Linked DNA regions of Homo sapiens: region 2 is linked to region 1. The links are contacts of gene promoters, found by promoter capture Hi-C in human tissues and cell types (Jung and others, 2019). All regions are on one chromosome and are shown on one strand. Each heading gives the region's core, a stretch centred on a gene start or on the middle of the fragment in contact. The rest is flanking DNA. Distances are from core to core; before and after follow the strand shown. Region 1 overlaps TMBIM6 (transmembrane BAX inhibitor motif containing 6). Region 2 holds the start of AQP2 (aquaporin 2).

What was found. Contacts are between HindIII fragments. The study calls those that stand out against the background at their distance.
Region 2: the fragment with the promoter of AQP2 here is called in contact with a fragment that was not itself captured in region 1 in 2 of the 25 tissues and cell types used here (IMR-90 fibroblasts and bladder).

Annotation. Positions count from the first base shown.
Region 1 is chr12:49,752,350-49,755,558 of GRCh38, reverse strand. TMBIM6 (transmembrane BAX inhibitor motif containing 6) reads right to left here. Exons shown (of 10, transcript NM_003217.3): 2 at 3,010-3,095; 3 at 2,478-2,586. The coding sequence starts at 3,065. Among named protein-coding and RNA genes, the nearest start is that of TMBIM6, 12 kb to the right of the region's middle. RefSeq lists an enhancer at 1,619-1,708. The HindIII fragment of the contact is 5,198 bases long and covers 1-3,209 here.
Region 2 is chr12:49,949,258-49,952,466 of GRCh38, reverse strand. It overlaps AQP2 (aquaporin 2), which reads right to left and starts at 1,730. Exons shown (of 4, transcript NM_000486.6): 1 at 1,277-1,730. The coding sequence starts at 1,636. It overlaps AQP5-AS1 (AQP5 and AQP2 antisense RNA 2), which reads left to right. Exons shown (of 3, transcript NR_110591.1): 2 at 379-548; 3 at 798-955. The HindIII fragment of the contact is 7,583 bases long and covers 1-3,209 here.

The DNA.
Region 1 (3,209 bases), core at 1-2,500:
TCAAACACTCGTCTGAACTTCCTAACATTTGCTTATAACCTGGAGGCAGGAGAAAAAGTAGTGTTTTCTCAGGGATGGGGCTGAGGAGATAACCCAGAAGCCTTGAAGCACAGAGTTAGGACCATGGTGGATGCTGGAGGCTCTTCTGGCTTGCGTAGTCCTTCAACTACAGTACAACTACCCAAGTCAAACTATGAGTGAGTCTTGCCCAAAAAATAGAAAGGATGAATGAAACGTGACAAGTGCTTAAAGTACATTCCATCTGTAGAACAAATAGAAATGATCCCCCTTTGGTCACTTTAAAAAAAACATGGTGGCTCACGCCTGTAATCCCAGCACTTTGGGAGGCCGAGGTGGGCAAATCACCTGAGATCAGGAGTTCGAGACCAGCCTGACCAACATGGAGAAACCCCGTCTCTACTAAAAATACAAAATTAGCCAGGCATGGTGGCACACGCCTGTAATCCCAGCTACTCAGGAGGCTGAGGCAAGAGAATTGCTTGAACCCAGGGAGGCAGAGGTTGCAGTAAGCCAAGATCACGCCATTGCACTTCAGCCTGGGCAACAAGAGTGAAACTCCGTCTCAAAAAAACAAAAACCAACAAACAAAACCCCCAAACACCAAAACACCAAGACACATACATATACAGAAGACTGCAAAGTACTAAAATGTTAACAGTAGTTATTTCTGGATGATGGGATTATGGAAGTTTCTAAAATACTTCCTTCTCATTGCTAGTCTGTTTTCTGAATTTTCTAAAATGAACACATATTAGCTTTGTAGTAAGAAAAAAGTGTTTCTTTTTTTAAAAACGCCAAGTGGGAAAAACTATAGGCATTAGAAAAAAGAGAAATCATTAAGGATGGACGTAGACACTGAAGTTCCTTCCTTCCTTTAAAGGAAGAAGTTGATTCTCATTATTCAGTGTTTATGTTATAAAATCACAGTGGACAATGAATTAGTAAACCCTTGTTCCTGAGGGAAATAAAAGGTAGGTAGGTTCCTGCAAGCCTAAGGTCACAACATTTTCATCAAATGATCAATAGATACCTTGCTTTTATATGTGTTTCTGTTTAAGGACACCTCATTTGACATTATTTTTGATTCCTTAACATTGAACTCACAGTTACAACAGCAGTACAACTCATGCCGGAATGAAGCTTATCTAATATACACATTTTCTTCATAAGGCACATTACGGTCTTTCTGCACTCAGGAATACTAGACAGCACTTCAGCACTATGCTGTTTGCATTCTGAACAGCAAAATTAAGCCAAGCATGGTGGCATGTGCTTGTATTCCCAGCTACTTGGGAGGCTGAGGTGCGAGGATCAATTGAGCCCAGGAGTTTGAGACCAGTCAGGACGACACCACAAGACCTCCACTCAAAAAACCCAGCAAAATCACCAATTAAAAGCACAAAAATACAAAGGAAGTGGCACTAAATGACCATGAAAAGAACATTTGTTTACAATACGAGAACTGAAACAAGAAGGCAGAGCACTGTCTTGTTCAACCTCAGCTGAAAACACTGCAACAGCAGGGTGACTCAACTTTTTCACCACTCTGTGACTGTCTGCAAAAAGTGCCATGAGTAACAGAGCGAGACTCTGTCTCAAAAAAAAAAAAAAAAGTGCCATGAGTATTGATTTTGGGGTTACAAATTTTAATGAGTAGGTGAATTCACAAATATAGAGTCTGTGAATAACAAGGATTGACTGTATTTTACTAAATTATTTAAGGGCTAACCTTGCCTAAAACTCAAGCGATCAAAGCCCTATCCTTTGAGTGTCTAAAGTAATTTTTCACACAATCCCTGCCAGGAGATGCCTGAACATAAGGATAGTTCTCAACAGTGGCAAATGCCAACAGAGGCCCACCTCTACATTTATGCTAAAAGGAATACTCTACAAAGGCACAAGACTATGTTAGGGAGTCTTCAAACTTTCTGGTTATTCCTCAAACTGTACCTTCTACTCCTGCTGACCAAACCCAGATTCTCTCTCAATACAGGAAAACAAATTGTTGAAGGTTTTTACCCAACCATGCAGACAACAGTTATCGGAAAATAAAACAGGTCAATTCCTTAAAAAGATCTCAATCCTGCCTCTCCTGATAGTTAATCACACAATCAGAGTTTTGTAAAGGAAGAATGGAGGAAAAGATAAAAAAGCTTCTGTGCCAAAGAATCCCAGCATGCATGCCATGCGCCTACTCAGTGGGTGGGGGTCTTGTACGTCAGCAGCACACCATTCAGTGCCAAGGTTAAGGCATTCTGTTTTTCGGTATCTAGAGGGGGCACAGTTGCCAGAAAATTAAAATGGCTTTACATGTCCTGATTTAATGTCTGAGTTTAAATCCTAAACTACTGATAAAGATTAAAGAGAGGAACAGGGTCCCTTGGACCACCTTGCTGAGCTGGTTTTTTCCTAATGTAATTTGTACCACAGCAACCAGGAGAGAAAATCGTTCTTACCTGAATGAAATGAGTGACCATATGGACATAGGCCCCTGCAGCCGCCACAAACATACAAAGGGCAAAACTTGCATAGACCTTCTTCAGGTGCTGCTGCGTTGACGGGGTTCTAAGAAAAGAATGTGAATAAGAGCAATCAGTCCCAGATCAATCTCATATTTAAGCTAAGAAGAATCATTTCTCTCTTTCCCTTCCTGGGAATATGTAAAAGTTCTGTTACAAATAGTTTGAAATACTTTTAGGAAAGCATATTACAATAAAAAATAATATTTTGAAAATAGGTTAACAGAACCTTAAATGCTGAGGAAGACCAAATGCCCAAAATTATGAATAATCAGTACCCAAACTAGAATAAATGCCTTTCCAATAACCACACAGCAACGTGTAGAATTTGGACATTTTCATCAGGTCCTCTGGATTCTGGCCAAGTTAATTTGTTAGCTTATACACACAAAAGTTATAAATGCAGAAAAGGGACAAAGAGATATGAAAAGAAATGCAGTACAAAACCAGTCAAGGTCAAAACACTTACATATGAGAAAATTTTAAAAGCGCATCAAAGTTGATCTTTCGATCAAATATGTTCATGGTTCCAGAGTCCGTGCAGCAGTCTCCACTCTGCAGAATAAAGAAAGGTTAGAGTCATTAAGTCATACAGAATCACACGAACAGCTTATAAAAAAAAAAAAAAGCAACATGTAAGTTCAGAAAGATGAAAACTTGCCTAAAATT
Region 2 (3,209 bases), core at 481-2,980, 200 kb before region 1:
TAGCCTTTCCTTGGCCCCTGGCCCCCAGCCTTGTCATATTTTCCTCTTTAAAGAACAGAGGCTGGGTGTGGTGGCTCATGCCTGTAATTCCAGCACTTTGGGAGGCTGAGGCGGGTGGATCACTTGAGGTTAGGAGTTTGAAACCAGCCTTACCAACGTGGCGAGTCCTGTCTCTACTAAAAATACAAAAATTAGCTGGGATTACAGGCGTGTAATCCCATGGGAGGCTGAGGCAAGAGAATGGCCTGAGGTGGAGGTTGCAGTGAGTTGAGATTGTACCATTGCACTCCAGCCTGGGCAATAGAGTGAGACTCCATCTCAAAAACAAAACAAAACAAAGCAGAGAAGTTCCCTAATTGGGATACCTCTGTCCCACAGATGAGGAAGGGCCACTTGTGCAGAGAAGGGGGCGCCCACAGAGATTGTGCGGGACTCATCAAAGACATCAGGACTCTTGTCCAGTGGCTCAAGGATGGAAAAGGCCGGGAACTACCGGAAACAAGCACAAAAGAGGCACTCACTGTCCTGGCTTAGGATGGGGGTACAGAGTGAGTGTTGATCTGTTGGGGGCACAGGTCATTCCTCCACATTCATGGGCCTTGGATTCACAGGGCCCACACAGACTTGAGAGGGGAAGTGGGTGGGACATGGGGGAAGGGACTGTGGCACCACCCTCAGCTCCCAAAGGGCCCACGGGGCCCAGTTAGCGCCTGTATCATGTAATCAGCAGCCAGCTTATGGGCTCCGGGGACCTCCTCAAGGTTTGGAGAAGTGAGTATGCCCATTGCTGCTTGCAGGGCTGTGGTGTGTCCGTGCCTGGCCTGTAAGGAGCACCTGCCACGGGACCTGCAAACCCTCAAAGCAGAAGAAATGCTGGGCCCCTCTTCTCTCTTGAGAACCCTGTGATGATCACTCCAAGGCTCCCCGCAGCTTGGAAAGCATGTCTGCTCGGGACACCAACCCCTGCTGAGGTATAGCCCTGTCTTCACTGTAATGTAGGCGTTGAGTCCAACAGAAACCTGGATGAGGCTCTTCCTGCACGACGGTCAGGGTGGAAGAAGCCAGCAGTCTGTCTGCATCCTGCTTTGCTCTGGTATCATTGCTCCTTTCATCCTGACCCTCCTATGGTGGCTGTGTTCCTGGCTCCAGCCTCTCTCTCTGCCTCTGTCTCCATCTCTCTCCCTACATCACCCAGAGCCCATCCCTCCCATCTCATCCTTTACAAGGGATTCCCCAGGACCTGCCCCTTGTGGATGGCAAAGTTGTGGCTACTCACAGCATTGACAGCCAGGTCCCCGCGGATGTCTGCTGGCGTGATCTCATGGAGCAGAGCGGCTCCGGCCACAGCCCCCAGCAGCTGGGCAGCCACGTAGAAGGCGGCTCGGAGAACGGAGACGTGGCAGCCCACCAGGCAGGCCACAGTCACGGCAGGGTTGATGTGGGCCCCGCTTATGTGGCCCAGAGCCTGTACCAGGGTGCCAATACCCAAGCCAAACGCCATGGCAATCTGTAGCACAGAGGGCAGGGCCTGTGGCCAGTTGAGGGCAGAGCCGAGGCCAAAGAAGACGAAGAGGAGTGTGGCCAGGAACTCTGCGAACACAGCCCTGGAGAAGGCTATGGAGCGGAGCTCCCACATGCTGCAGAGCCCTGCGGGGCTGGCCCAGCTGTCTCAGGGCCAGGATGCTCCGGGCACTCGCTCTCGCACTCTATCGCTCTCTTTCTCAAGGCCTCTGGGGAGGCTGGGTTGTGGGCATTTATAGGGTCCTTCCATCCCGGATCTGGGCACGTGGCGGGGAGGTGGAGTCGTTGAGGCCAATACCTCTTCTCCTCCATGGCGGCCTCTGCCCCCATGCCCCATCCCAGCCCACCCACAGGCCTATCACCCTATCTTGGCCTTCACAGCTGACTAATGTTCCCCATTTAATGAGCTCCAGATAAGGACTGACGTCCCTGGTTTTCCGTGTTTGTTCCCTTGGTTACCCCAGGGCTGCTGCCCCAGGGCGTCTCCCAGCCCCCACAGGGTCTTGTGAATGGGAACGTCTGGTGGGGATTGTGCCCGGCCCCCATCTCTCTGACTCAAACTGTTGACCAAGGCAGGGGCAACACCTCACACAAAACTAAGAGAGAACATGAGTGCTGCTCCTTCTGGTAACTGGGAAGTTCTTCTGTCAGACCTCCAATTATTCCTGCTTCACAGGGATGGAAAACAACTGGTTGGCTTGTGACAAATTTCCAAGGCATAAAGGTTTGTGTCTTCTGTGCTTGCATTCTTGCAGCTAATCACCCATAAATCATTAAGCTTCACCTTCTCCTGGGAGCCCCAGCCAAACAGCAGCTCCTAGAGCCTGGGGGCACTGGGACCCTGGCCCTTGGTGATGGAGTCAACCTGGGGCGGCTGAGGAAGCTGAGGGTGTCCATTCTGGCATCAGCCTGTTCCATCTATGTGACTTAACCTTTCTTGTCTTTCTCTGTAAAATGGGGAGAATAAAACTGACCTAGTGGATTGGGGTTTGGATTGAATGAAACAATGTATGTCAAGTGCTCAGAGCAGCGCCTCGTCCACAGTAGGTGGTCAATGAATATCAGCCCTTACTTACAGTATTATTTGCACTTTGAGGAGAACAGGTCTTTGCACACTCATTTGTTGGGGTCCCAGAAGCTGTGACAGGTCCTAGAAACCCTGAGGAGCTCAGGGCCGCTCTGGCCACAGGAGAAAGACATTTCTGTGGGGCAGTGAGCTGTGCAGGCTCGGGGCGGCTGTGATGCCTGATAAGCAGCTCTCTGGCCTTGGTGCCCACTCAGCTCAGCATCTGGGCAGTGCTGCCTCCTGCTATCAGTGCTGCTGTGGCCACTGGGGTCCTGGAGGCGTTCAAGTCTAGAAGTTTCCCCAGCCCCACTCACTGGCCCTTCCCTAATCCCTCCAGCCTCGCTCCCTCTCCTGGGGATTCACAGCAGGGTCAGGCTCAGAGTGGGGACAGAAGGACGGGCTTCTGCACCCTGCCCTAGCTCCTGTCCAGCAGGTCCCTGGGCAAGTCACAGTCGCAGGAACAGAAATCTGGGAGAGATTGGAGACTGGAGTGGAGCGCTTTGTGTTGTATCATGGGGATGTGGGGTGGGCAGGAGGGGTGAGTATAGGCCCAGGGAGGGGAGTGACTTATCTAGGGTGCTCCAGCAGGTTAGTGGCTGAGCTGGGACTGGAGCCTGGTCTG